4 separate regions of the Homo sapiens genome follow, and regions 1, 2 and 3 are each linked to region 4. The links are contacts of gene promoters, found by promoter capture Hi-C in blood cells and fetal thymus (Javierre and others, 2016). All regions are on one chromosome and are shown on one strand. Each heading gives the region's core, a stretch centred on a gene start or on the middle of the fragment in contact. The rest is flanking DNA. Distances are from core to core; before and after follow the strand shown.

Region 1 (3,684 bases), core at 1-2,500, 280 kb before region 4:
TGGTTCACCCTTTGGACCTAGAGGAAAAAAAGAGCAAAGACAAACGATGAAGGAATGAGGACCACACGGAACACAGGGAGGACACGCAGTGGGTGGGCTGCACGCCACATCCTACCCAGCACCACGAGTGCCCGGAGAGCAGAGCCTCTGCCTGTGTTCTCCACTTCTTCCCTTGGTGTTTCTAGGATCTTTCACAGAGAGCTACGCTTCTCCCCATGCGTTTGCATGTCCAAAATGACCAAGATGTTTGTTGGACACAAGAATCCCTTAAGAGTCCACAATTAAGAGTCACAAGAAGCTGAAAAATCTACAACAACAACATGTGAGGTGGCTCTAGGTGATTTCTTAGTGAGCCGGTCTCAAAAAGTCAAAATACTTTTGCTGTTCTCTCTCAATTTACCAAAGTCTAAGTTGCTTTGAGATTGACCTAAATTACGGTCGTTTGGTGGGAAATTATCCAAACAACATGATCCGCGGGTGATTACGAACGATCCATTATCTGTAATGGTGCAGCTGGAGAGCTCTGCGCTCACTTGAGCAACACAGGCAAAACCATCCTTCCTCCCAAGCCAGGAAGCACAGCCCCGGCCCTCTGGGCACTCATGCCTAGGAGAGCCACCGGAGTGTCAGGGTTTCGCTGTTAAGAAAGGACCAAAGGCTTCCCCTCCAAGAATGCACGCACTGAATCTTCGTACACCTCGTAAGAGTTCAAGCTATGTGGGGCCTCCCTAGAACAGCCAGCACATTCTTTAGCTACAGACTGTGGGAAACGCCAACTGAACGACCCTAGGAAATGCCTGCTGTTGGTGACACACACCCTGGGCACCAGGCTTTTATGATTACCACAGTTACACACAGCTCTGGCAGATCAAAGACATCTGTTTTCTAATCTCGAAGCTAATTGGCTCTGGATGGCCAAGGAGCCCTACAGCTGTGGGGAGAGAGGATCAACAGCCCTGTTCCCCCTCCCCAGAAGCCTTCTTCCCCATCTGCTAGGGTATATTTGTGAGTACTCCAGTTGGTTTCTCTGATGGTAGTTTCTCGCCAAAAGAAAAGCTAATTCCCTTCGACAGCTCTGGAAATCTGCAGATGTCACAAGCACAAAGACAGCACTTGATTTGTTGATTGTGGAATCAAGAGACCCAAGGGAAAGTGATCGGAAGTCCCTATGCCTGGCTCACCGAAGTCCTCCTCCATCAAACCCGGTATCCCCTACCTCTAATGGAGTCATAAAAGAGACATTTCTGGGACGCTTCTAAACAAAGAACAACCATCAACAGAGTCAGAACTTGATGCTAAGTACTCACTGATTATACCAACAGGGAGAAGGATAAGAGTAACAGTTATGTTAGCACACTACACCTGGGCTTCCATCAAACACTGGCTGACATTTCCCATACTGGAATGCTTAGGAACTGGACTGTGTGTGTGTGTGTGTGTGTGTTTTGTTTGTTTGTTTGTTTGTTTTTGAGACAGTGTCTTGCTCTGTCATCCAGGCTGGAACGCAATGGCACGATCTCAGCTCATTGCAACCTCCGCCTCCTGGATTCAAGCAATTCTCCTGCCTCAGCCTCCCAAGTAGCTGGGATTACAGATGCCAGGGTTTCACCATGTTGGCCAGGCAGGCCTCGAGCTCCTGACCTCAGGTGATCTGCCCACCTTGGCCTCCCAAAGTGCTGGGATTACAGGCATGAGCCAGCGTGCCCAGCCTATACACTGTATATTAATAAGGAAATATTAGTCCCTAATGGGAATAGGAATTCATAAAACAGGCTCAATATGGTTATTGACATAATCAGCACACTTGCGAGCCAGAACGGCATGCTGTAATTGCTCCAACGTGGTTATTGTTGGGTATTTCAAATATCCAGCTACTTTATTTATTTATTTATTTATTTATTTTTGAGACGGAGTCTCACTCTGTCACCCAGGCTGGAGTGCAGTGGCGAGATCTTGGCTCTCTACAACCTCTGCCTCCCGGGTTCAAGCGATTCTCCTGCCTCAGCCTCCAGAGTAGCTGGGACTATAGGTGCCTGCCACCATGCCCAGCTAACTTTTGTATTTTTAGTAGAGATGGGGTTTCACCATATTGGCCAGGCTGGTCTCCAATGTCTGACCTTGTGATCTGCCAGCCTCTGCCTCCCAAAGTGCTGGGATTACAGGCGTGAGCCACCGCACCTGGCCCCAGCTACTTTATAAATAACTATGTTTTTTAAGGTTTACTAGTTAGATATTTTTAATCACCTTAAGTCCTTTCACTCACTTTTACAACTTTTGAATGTTTCCTAGCAACGCGCATTTACTTCCCTCATCTACACACAAGGCATTCCTAGCCTCTCCTCTTCTCATTCCGGGATTTTCTAGGGAAGAACAGGCGTGCTCCATGTCTACTGGGAATCGCAGTCAGATAATAAACTATTAGCACCTGCTGTGTGCAAGGCCTAGCGCCACAGCCCCCTCCCGCTGGCCCTGAAAATAAGCAAGTCGTGGGAGAGGAGAACGACGAGGGAGCCCACACTCATCCCTGCTACAGGTTCTCTGGAAAACCTCTGAACAGGCTGTGCAGGAGGGCAGGGACCACGTCTGTGGTTTTGACCATGTGTTGTCAATGCTCAGCATAGAGCTTGGCGCGTGATTCACTCCAAAAACAGCAGACAACTAAAACCACCATGGAATGAAATCGTCATCGCGCTGTAGGACCTCTAAATCCATTCACAGGCGTCTGCCGACTGTGAAGAGGTGGAGATCACACCACTCGGGATGCACAGAAGCCAAAATGGGCTGCTCATCGGGGAAAGCCAAATGGGTAAGGAGAGGAAAATGACTTGACCTCGGTGTGACTTCTATACAAAGGCTGACTTTAGCTGGTGCGTGCTGTGTACTTACTTATGAGGACTGTAAACCCAAGTTCTCCACCTGCATATTACCTGGCCCATCACATACATGAGGAAAGGGAGGCACAAAAGGCTGAAGGCTTGCCCAGGTCCTGCCCCAATTCCTGGAAGAATCAAAGCCAAGTGTGCGCCCTGGCCTATGCGAACCCCAGGCCTCTGTGTGCACCCGAGGTGCCTGCCCTAACCTCCGTTTACAACTTCATGCTGCATCACGAGTTTCTCAGGCCTCACCTGGCAGGCCTGGGGATCCAGGGCCTCCAGGAAAGCCTGCTTGTCCTTTGTCACCAATGGGACCAGCAGGACCATATCCTGGAGGCCCAGGGGGGCCGGTGTCACCACGACTGCCTGGGAATCCAACTCCTCCAGGGGGGCCACGCTCTCCTTTCAATCCTACAGAACCCTGATGTGAGAAGAAGAAAAAGACACCGTTATCAGAGACACACCAACACCCTGTCCTTATCGCATTCTTCTGACATTTGTGGTCAATAAGTACTAGAGTTAACTGGCTCACACTATTTATTTACTTCATCTACCCTCCCAGGAGGGCCACCTTGTAGTTAATAAGTGAAACCAGCATTCTTCTCCCTAAGCTGAGCATTCTTCCTCCCTCATCTACTTAGGGAGATACTTTAGAGAATGAGATGTTGATACCTGGAATCTTTTGAAAACAATGACATGAATACTATTAACTTTAGATTTCACCTCCCATCCAAAGCAAAAAGATACACAAACACATCTGTTCAGTTCCCCCAAATGCATCAGAAGACACTGATCTGTTATCACCTAATTA
Region 2 (3,226 bases), core at 727-3,226, 260 kb before region 4:
ATATTCTTACTATAAAGATTGTCTTGCAGAAAGCAGATTAAACATTTCTTCTGGTAAAATAGAGTGTGCCTACAGTAAATTAAAACTATTTTTCTCTCTTTAATATCTCTCATTCTGTGACGATTACAACAAAAATGAATAGATTTCATTTTGCTTTGCACACGCATGACACATGAAAATAAAGATCTCTGCAAAATATAAGTTGGGGGCTAATTATTCTCCTTACAAAAGCCCAGATACTTGTCCCATCAACTGCACACTTCCTCGGAAAACAGAATCATTGATGAGCGGAACTGGCAACCAGGGTTTTTCAATTTTAAAAAGAGAAATGAAATAAAATAATATAAAAGCATGATTTCCAAATACATTTTCTTAAATAAATCATTTTATATGATGTTTTTAGGTGAAGATTTTCTCAAATTTGCATTGGAGGTCATAATGTAAAATCTAATATTAACTGAAAACATTAGTGGATAAATTCTGATCACTTTAAGGTTTAATCTCATCCATAGTAGATGAAAAACTCAAAGAAATTAACCCTTTCATATCAAATATTTTTATATAAACGTCATCGTAATGATTTAAACAGTCCAAAGATATGTACATTTTACCATGAATGTATATATTTTCCTTTTAAATTAAGGCAGTAAACAAGAATTGAATGTTTTGATTTTTCTTATATGAATACCAGAAGATTTTAGAAATATCTAGAGGACATAAATATCTTAGCCACTATATTCTAAATATATCTACCATTTAAAATGTACAGGATTTTACTTCCTCAAAAAATTACAGCCAAGGGTTTCTTCCTTTTGTCCCTGGCTTTAATAAATTAACCGTAGGCTACTGAGGCCCTCCCCGCAGCTTTCCATTCGCCTTTGGTGATGACTATTCCAAAATTATCTCTTATATTAGTAAAGACTTACATTACCTAGTCTCATATTAAGAGAGAAAAATAAAGCAATAATGAGGTTTTTTTTTTCTGCCTGTCAGATTGACAAATATTTTTTAGATTTTTTTTTTTTTTTAGTTAGTTCCCCAACTAAAAGGGCCCTGGTCTGGCAGAAGGACTTTCTGGGGCAATTTGGTTGCATGTGGCAAAAATTTCAAAACAAGTGTCTGACTGTGGACCCCAATATTACGCTTTTAGGAATTTGACAGAGAAATGACCAGACAAGTGAGCAAAAATACTTGTAAGCATACAAATTTGGAAATGGCCTAAATACCACGCAACAAAAGGCATGGATGTTCACATCATAATTACACTGACGGCCATTGAAATAGATCCTCCTTCTATCATTACGTGAAAAAGCAAGATGTCTTGTTCACTATCACCTTTAAAAACTGCCTGCTTGTGTATGCACATAGGAACAAGGCGAACTCTGGCCACTTCTGAACAGGTAACAGAAAAAATTAGGTAAGCTTTCTTTACCTCGTGATATCTTTCTGTATTTTCTATTGCTTTATGATCAGGAAAAAAATAATCTACTACCAAAAAAAGATATAAAAATTTGAATGAATGGCACATTTCATATATTTTTATTTTGTAAAAAATCATGAACATAAAGGAAACCACTAAATTGTGTTTTTACCCAGAAGAAGCATAAATGATTTTTTTCCCTTGAGTACAGAGTCCTTTATTCTAGGAAAGAATAAACAGACTTCTGGGTTGAATTGGAAAGTGAAGATAAAGGCTCACAATAGTGCCAGCGTTTACCTGCGGGCCCTGGCGGCCTATGAGTCCTGGGTACCCGGGTTCACCAGGAAAACCCTGAAACCGAAGAGAGAAGCAGTAACCGTCAGAGGCCAGTGGTAGGAACAGTGAGCCTGCTTGTAAAAACCACAGAGAAACACTTACGGGACTCCCTTTTTCCCCTTTGTCACCATCTTTTCCGGGTTTGCCCTGTAGAATAAAGATGTAAACGTTAGTATTTAATAAATAATAGACTGCGCGCGGTGGCTCATGCCTGTAATCCCAGCACTTTGGGAGGCCGAGGTGGGTGGATCACCTGAGGTCAGGAGTTCGAGACCAGCCTGGCCAACATGGCGAAATCCCGTCTCCACTAAAAATACAAAAATTAGCTGGGTGTGGTGGCAGGTACCTGTAGTCCCACCTACTTGGGAGGCTGAGGCAGGAGAATCACTTGAACCCAGGAGGCGGAGGTTGCAGTGAGCCGAGATCACACCATTGCACTCCAGCCTGGGCAACAGAGTGAGACTCTGTCTCAAATATATATATATGTATATATATATAATAACGGATATAACACCAAAGCTCTGATTCAGATAGCTTAATATGTTGTCTCTCCTATGAAACACAAGCAAGGTAAATGAGGGTTCTATGTAAGTTGACAATACCACAATAATAAGTAATATTGTATATGATGAATAATTATGAAACAGTTACAATATAAGAGAACTCCATTTTTAAAGAGCAGAGTCCGATGAGCTACAAGTCTTCTAAAATATGATTGTATCTTGGTAGCAAAGCTAACATTAGAGAAGTTTGCCTATTGGCAGCTGAGTATTTGCAAGCTTATGCAAATGCTTCATTTAATGCAGGTTTCTGCATGCTCCTTCCAGGTAGAAACCAGAACCATCCCAGCTGACTGGCAGTGGGGTGGGTCTCACGCCACCACCATCCCTAAAGTGAAAAGCAACTCAGCCTCTCAGGCTTGTGGCTGTGCAAACACTGTCTGGTGTTCTGGGTGGCAAAGTCCAACCAACCTGCTGCTCTCAGAGCAGGACCGAAGGTTTCAGGGATGGCCCAGGGCTCTTCAGAAGCCTCTCTGAACAGCCGGCGGTGGCACCTTCAGTGCTGGATCCTTAAACAGGGAAGGACCTCGCCTGCCTGGGAAGCCTTGCAACTGATATAGCTCAGGAGAGTCTCGGAAAAGCCCTTCGGGGCATGAAAGGGATAAACTAGAAGTCCCTACGAGCCTTTTCTGTTCTTGTGTTTCTGTGAATCTGCGATTTTCCGCATGGAAGGAGAATTGTTTTATGATAAAAGGACTTTGGAAAGCACTTACTCTGGGTCCTGGTTTTCCGGGTTCACCTTTCTCTCCGACCCCTGGCATCCCCTTAAAGGAATAAAAAGACAAAGAGATTTATTCGTCTATTTAAGCAAAATTTAAATTAGATAGATATTAAACTTAAGGTGAAAAAAACTTGAAACTTAAATCTTTATGGTCTTTGACCTAAAAATGATAGGCAGAAACTGAGTACT
Region 3 (3,762 bases), core at 980-3,479, 350 kb after region 4:
TCCCCCAGCCTCAGCCTCCCAAAGTGCTGGGATTATAGGCATGAGCTACTGGGTCCAGCCATCAGTCTACTTTTTCATTTCTGTTGCTAATACTTCACTTGGGTGGCTCTTACTAGGGGTAGTTCTGCCTCCTTGGAGCTGTTTGGTGTCTATGGAGACACTTTGGCCATCTTGATGATTGGCAGTGCTGCTGGTATCTAGGTAGGGTATCTGGTGGGCAGGGCTAGGAGTGATGGAGGTTTTAGAAAGTGCCAGGCATCCCCACACAGGAAGAATTGCTTTGCACCAGCCCTGCTTCCTAAAGGCCAGCTGGACATTCATGCGGAATGGCTTGACCTAGTGCTTGTGAGTTTTTGAGCCTAGAATGTAAAGCTGCACCCAGGTTCAGCGACAGACAAAACAGCAGGGCGCTCAGAGCCCCCCTGTCCAAGGTGCACAACCGGGGTTCAGACCTTCCCTATGAAGTGGTGCCAGGGTCCAAAATTCCCCTGGGAAGTGGCTGGAGGTCCCTTTCCAAACTCTCAGTGGTGCCTTGGGACTGCCTCTGCTTTGGAAGTATTTGTTCTTTATCTCTCTGCTCATATGCAAAAGAACTTATTAAAAAGCTGTAATGGAGTCTTGGGAAGTTTTTGTGATTGGATGCACCTGAGCTCATATCTTGGTTCTCCTACTTTCTTGGGCAAGTCACTAAACTACTCTAGATCTTGGTTTCTTTATTTGTAAAATAGAGTAAAATGCCCTTTTCATTTGGCCATCCAGAAAGTTAAATGAGATCACATGTGTGTTTAAAGCACATAGGCCTATTCCCATTTGATTCTTTCATTTCTTCTTCTCCCTTCTTTCTGATGAAGGAGGACTTTAGTTTGCTTCTGTAACTTAACCCATACTTAAACAGGAAGAGTATATTTAGCATTGAGAATATATTTTTTTCTGCAGCTGTCCTAGATTAAAATAAACAAAAATAAATAAATGAATGCCTACCATTCTGAGCAGCTCAGGGTGTATGTTTGAGACTGCTTTGAAACTCTAATACAAGCACAGGCATACCTGTCCTGGTGCTTTTGCACACAAGCCTCACACTGTCCAAGAGGACAGAGTGTGTGTGGCTCCCAAATGCATGTGGAGCCCCCTCCAGATCTGGGGAGGCTGCCCCATATGGTGCTGGACAGTGGCTGCACCAGGACCTGGAGGGGAACCTGAGACCTAGGCCCAGGCAGGTGGGGGCTGTGAACATGTGGCTGGGAGAGGCCATTGTCCATACACAGACAGCCCAAGTTGTTCAACTCCATTTGCCAACCCATGCCCTGCCCCTGGCTTGACTGGTCCCCCTCCTCTTCTGCTACTAAAGTATCTCCTGAAGCTGAGAACAAGCCAATGAGGATGATGGTGCCAGGGAGAGAGGATCCTGTGTTGGTCAAGGATGTGCGAGTAGCTGTTACCTCCATTGGCAGTTTTGTCACTAAAAGACCTCATTCACTTGAGCATTTGAGGATGACCAAATAGAATCACTAACTTTGGTTATTTCCAGTTTGGTCTGCATTAGACCATGACCAAGGAAAGCTGTGCCAATGACAAACCATATGCTTAAGTTTTCACCACATAAAAAGTTACTTTTAGGCAGAAGTCATGATACACTTTCCAAGAAATGGTTGTGGAATATTGTCCAAGCTGCGGGGGATTCGTTAAGTGGACATTGGAGAGCAGTGGTGCCTGGTGGCTTGGCACAGGTTCAGATGGAGAGACAAAAAAAAAAAAATTGCCATAAAATAAGCGAAGCATTGGTAGAGCCCAGAAAAAGTACCTGATTTTCCAGTTGGAAGTAACCCAAAAACGTGGTCAAGAATTTATATTGATTTTTCAAGACCTTTCTAGGGAAAGAACTTGAGGATCCTGGTAAGCTTTTCCAAAATGACTCAGAGTATCCATTTCTGTTTCTTCTCAAACCTTGCTATATATAATCACTGCAGGTCTGAAGAAACTCCACAAAACCTAAGCAGCCTCAATAAGAAGAAATCTAAACACACCATGGTCAAACTGCAAAAACCAAATCTTATGATACAGTGGGCAGTGGGCTATGTGTGCCAGAGAGGGCTTGATCTCAGGGGGTCCCTGGGGGTCTCCTGGTTTGTGTGGTATGTTGTTCTCAGAATATGACTGCCAGTAAAGTGCTGTATTTTCCAAGATGTAATCATTCCTTGTTTATTCGTTCCTGCCACCCTACACAGAAGGCATCAGAGTCCTAGAACGGCAGCTTGTTTTAATTAGAATTTCATGCAATTGAGAGAATTTAATAAGGTGGGTAGGATCTCATGTATTATATGTGTAATTAATAGGCAAAAATTAACAACCATTTATGCCAACTACAAACAGAAGATCTGATGGAATAAAGGACAACTTTTATAATAACAACAACTACTCGGAATACTGCAGGATATTACTACTACTTCAAAGTACTTCAAGATAAAGAAGAGGATAAAACAAGTGGAAAACCATAGTATGTTCACGGGTAGGAATCTACCTCATCATACAGAAATCACTTCTCTGTAGTTTATTTATAAGTTAAGCTTGATCCCATTTAAAATACGAGAAGTGTTGAGGATTTTTTAAAATGAGAAAAACCAATTATAAACTTTATAAGACACATACATATGAGATTTACATGAACTGTCTCTGGAAAGATGCAGGAGAAATGGAGTCCATTGGCTGCTCCCTGGGAAGGAAATAGGATGACTGGGGGAATGACTGGGAGATTTATTTCATTGGCTCTCATTTTGATTTATTTTTATTTTGAACTATGTGAGTATATAATTTTTGAAAATAGAAAATTATTTAAAATAGTAGTATAGATATTAAGCAATCAAGAAAACCCAGGAAAATACTGAAAAATAAAACAATAAAGTTTCCCATGTATTAAAACATATTATAATGTGGCATTAGTTCATGAATAGAGGGATGGAACTACCTAGGAAGTCCAGAAAATAGATGCCATATTATTACGTAATAAAGTGGCATTTGAAATCAGTGGGAGAAGTGTATTATCATCTGAAAGAGAAAGCTGGATTCCAACCACTCACATTTACAAAGTAAATTTCGTATGGATGGAAAATTTACACATGAAAAAAATGAAACCTTAAAAGTAACAGAAAAAACTGGGAGAATTATTAAATAATCTCTGATTCAGAAAGGACCTTTTTAATTCTGACACAAAATCTTTAAGCCAGAAAAGAAAAGATTGAGAAATTTGATCAACTCCCCACCCCTCAAACTAAGATATTCCTGAATGGCAAACATCACCAGAAACAAAATTAAATGATAATAAATTAGGAAAAATTCATGTACTTCACATCAAAGGAAAACGGCCAAAACAGTTAATTGTGTTGTGTGTTTTAAATATTGATTCCTAAAAATCAATATTTAAAAAGGACAGTAACTTAATTTAAAAAGTACCTGAAAACTGTACACACATACATAACCAGTTCCTTGGTGCTCAAACTCCTTACAATAAGAACGCAAACTAAAACAACACTGAAATACAATTTTGTTTGCTTATCAGATTGGCAAGGAATAGTACAAATAAAGTTTGTTCCCACACTGTATTTGTAAAGATGGTTGGGGCGGGGGGGTGGGGGGAAATGCGCAGTTTATCTTTGCTGCTGGAACTGTAAACAGGTAAAATTTCCATGGAAGGTTCTTTGACGACAGCTAACAAAATTTAATACGCATGACGTCTTCAACCCAGCAACTCTAGGTGTTTAGCCTATG
Region 4 (3,063 bases), core at 1-2,500:
AAAAAGCTTGCCAGCCATCTTCTCAGATGCCCTCACAGTACAAAGAAGGAAGATATTTTTTTGTCTGTTTTCCACAGGGAGTGCCTGGCAACATTGGTGCTCCCGGACCCAAAGGAGCAAAAGGAGATTCCAGAACAATCACAACCAAAGGTGAGTTCCTCTCTGGCCACGCGGCCCCTGGGGCACTGAGCCTTCCTGTGGGCACCTGCCTGGGCAGCTTCACATGCAAATCCCTTTCTAGGTGAGCGGGGACAGCCCGGCGTCCCAGGTGTGCCCGGGATGAAAGGTGACGATGGCAGCCCAGGCCGCGATGGGCTCGATGGATTCCCCGGCCTCCCAGGCCCTCCCGTGAGTAGCCACAAACTGCGGCAGCTCCGTCCTCTCTTCTTCATCCTTCAGGTTCTCCAAACACCCCAGAAGCAAACAGTATTGACATGAGCACTAAACCAACCTGTGCATAGGACAGGCTGCTCATTCTGCTCATTCTATTTCTAATGAGCAGAAATCAGACTTTTTAGGAAACGGTGAATTAAGTTAGAAGCCAAGCTCCAAATGAACATTTAAAAGTCAACAATCAAAGAAATATTCCTCCTGGTGTAACAGACTAAGAACCCTCCCCCGCCAAAAAAAGTAGACTATTCTAAAATGGGTGGTGGAACCCTATTTTTCCAAGGTAAATCATGAAATATACAATTTCATTTTTGCAACAAACACACACTGGTGTTGAAGGAGGGGCTACCTAGTAGCCTGCAGAGACCCCAGCATCATTTCCTCAGGGGAGGCTGGGGTCAGAGGCGCGGGAGGCAGCCATGGAGGGAGACAAGACCCCTTCCTGTGCACCCTCCAGCCTCTGAGCCTCTCCTGCCACCACGCCTTTCCCACTGCCAGCTCTGGAGCATTCTCTTCTCAGAAGGACCTTGCAACCTTATTTCTCACGTCTTTTTTTCTAGATTCCATTTTCCTCCCTCTAGTCACCAAGCCTGTACCTCCTTAAGCTCTTTGTACTGGTTTCCTGGGGCTGAGGTCACAAACTGCCACAGACTGGGCAGCTTAGACATCAGAAATGTATGGTCTCACAGCTCTGGAGGCTGAAAGCCGACATCAAGGTGTCTGCAGGGCTGGTTCCTTCTGAGACAGTGCGGGAGGATCTGTCCCTGCCTCTCTCCCAGGTTCCCGGAGCTCTGGCATTCCTTGGCTTATAGACGGCTGTCTTCTCTCTGTCTTCTCATCATCTGTCCTCTCTGTGTGTCTGTCTCTGGGCCCAAATTTCCCCTTTTTATAGGGAGAGCGGTCATATTGGAATGGGCCCATCCTAAAGACCTCATCTGACCTTGAGCACCCTCAAAGACCTTATTTCCAAATAAGGTCACATGTCTAGGTCCTGGGGGTTAAGACTTCAGCATCATTGGAGGACGATTGAAGTCATAATCCTCTTTCTCCTCCTCAGAGCCTCACGCCTGAATTCTATTCGCAGCTTATTTGCCTCATTCCATAACCCATGTCTTCTCTAGTTTTAACGTGGGTCATGTCTGTAATAACACTCTTGAGTGCAGTGGTACAATCAAAGCTCACTGCAGCCTCGAACTTCTGGACTCAAGCCATCCTCCTGCCTCAACCTCCCGAGTACCTGGGACCACAGGTGCACACCAGCACACCCACCTAATATTTTTAAAATTTTCTGTAGAGATGAGATCTCTCTATGTTGCCCATGCTGGTCTCAAACTCCTGGGCTCAAGTGATTCTCCTGCCTTGGCTTCCCAAAGCACTGGTTTTATAGACATCAGCCACCACACCCGGCCCACATTTTTACAATTTAAGTGCAGTTTTTTGGGGCCAGAGAACACAGATAATTCTATGATTGGGTATCTTAAAAATCTCATCTGGGAGGCAACAGGGTTAAATAAGAGGCAAAGTCATAATTGGTCACTTTAGCCAGAAGAGGAGGATGAGTGATGATTCCTGTGGTTGGAACAGTCTTTGGCCTGTTCAGTGTCATGTGGGGTGGGGGTGGTGAGTGTATGTGTGGTGTGTGGTGTGCTCATGTGTGTATGTGTGTGGTCCGTTTGAGTCTGGATTTGTTACGGTAGTGGTGGCCTTCCCTGGAGTTGGTGCCTTGTGAAGTTGGTGACCAGGAGGTGCACCTGTCCAGCCATGGGGTTCACCCACCCCTGCGGCTCCCAAGCCTGGCTGCCAGTCCCAGCCCAGCTGGGGGCAGGTGGTCGGAGCAGGGTTAGGGGTAGGGGTGAGGGTTAGGGTCAGGGAGAACCTTGCAGCCTCAGCTTCCCATTCTCGGGGTGTAGGGACTTTCCCAGTGCTTGTGTGCCTTCCTTGTTTGGTGGCATCTCTAAACCAAGAATGTCAACTTCTGCCTTTAGAAAACTCGTGATCCTGCCTGTGCCACCTTCCAGTGGCATCATCCCCACTGCTGTCCACTAAGTTTGGGGCATCTGCCCTGTGATCTCTGCAACAGCCTTGTGTCCCCCTCCCCTGTGAAAAAAAGCTAAAACACAGGGGTACACCACTTAATCAAGGTCTCATAAATAGAGCTGGACCGGTGTCCCTGCCCCGCTCCGTCATGCCTTTGACAAGGAAGGGGCTGTGGTGTCAGTGGAGAGCAGGGTTTGATTTCTTATAAGCAGCTGCCTCATTGTCATGAGAACACCCAGCCTCGTCCCGTGGCTCAGCAGATGAGCGGGAGCTTATGCGCATGGCTGTTCCACCAGCACGTGGGGACAGCACCGAGCCGTGCCGTGGTGTGTGCGCAGATCACACCAGCATCACTGCTGCCAGCCTCCCCACCCCATCCCTGCACCTCCCACCAGCTCCCCCCCGCACCCTGCAGCTGGTGCTTTCATCCACAGGGCAGCCCCTCTCCATTCCCAATCCTGTAATCTCTCCTGACTTCTGAGGCGCACACGGCTCTTTCCTTGTCCAAATTAGCTTCCTTTCCTTTAACAACGTAGCATCTCTTAAAATAACAGCCATTTTACCGATGCTAAATTATAACAACAAAATCATGTGTTTCTTTCTCCACCCACAGTAGAACACAAAAGCCTGTGCCTT

Evidence for each region. Contacts are between HindIII fragments. The CHiCAGO score rates a contact against its expected background, and 5 or more counts as called.
Region 1: a fragment that was not itself captured here is called in contact with the fragment with the promoter of COL4A2-AS2 in region 4 in 1 of 17 cell types (endothelial precursors); the score reaches 6.5 in endothelial precursors.
Region 2: a contact is called between a fragment that was not itself captured here and the fragment with the promoter of COL4A2-AS2 in region 4, in 1 of 17 cell types (endothelial precursors). The highest score is 15.3, in endothelial precursors.
Region 3: a fragment that was not itself captured here is called in contact with the fragment with the promoter of COL4A2-AS2 in region 4 in 3 of 17 cell types (naive B cells, total B cells and activated CD4 T cells); the score reaches 6.5 in naive B cells.

The regions. Positions count from the first base shown.
Region 1 is chr13:110,183,260-110,186,943 of GRCh38, forward strand. It overlaps COL4A1 (collagen type IV alpha 1 chain), which reads right to left. Exons shown (of 52, transcript NM_001845.6): 26 at 3,126-3,294; 27 at 1-17. Among named protein-coding and RNA genes, the nearest start is that of LINC03082, 56 kb to the left of the region's middle. The HindIII fragment of the contact is 9,885 bases long and covers 1-3,684 here.
Region 2 is chr13:110,203,636-110,206,861 of GRCh38, forward strand. COL4A1 (collagen type IV alpha 1 chain) reads right to left here. Exons shown (of 52, transcript NM_001845.6): 15 at 3,030-3,080; 16 at 1,859-1,903; 17 at 1,718-1,771. Among named protein-coding and RNA genes, the nearest start is that of LINC03082, 76 kb to the left of the region's middle. The HindIII fragment of the contact is 1,113 bases long and covers 1,421-2,533 here.
Region 3 is chr13:110,806,505-110,810,266 of GRCh38, forward strand. It overlaps LINC00567 (long intergenic non-protein coding RNA 567), which reads right to left. Exons shown (of 1, transcript NR_135280.1): 1 at 3,172-3,762. Among named protein-coding and RNA genes, the nearest start is that of LINC00567, 4.7 kb to the right of the region's middle. The HindIII fragment of the contact is 666 bases long and covers 1,897-2,562 here.
Region 4 is chr13:110,462,037-110,465,099 of GRCh38, forward strand. It overlaps COL4A2-AS2 (COL4A2 antisense RNA 2), which reads right to left and starts at 1,251. Exons shown (of 5, transcript NR_171022.1): 1 at 987-1,251. COL4A2 (collagen type IV alpha 2 chain) reads left to right here. Exons shown (of 48, transcript NM_001846.4): 23 at 78-150; 24 at 242-348. The HindIII fragment of the contact is 13,540 bases long and covers 5-3,063 here.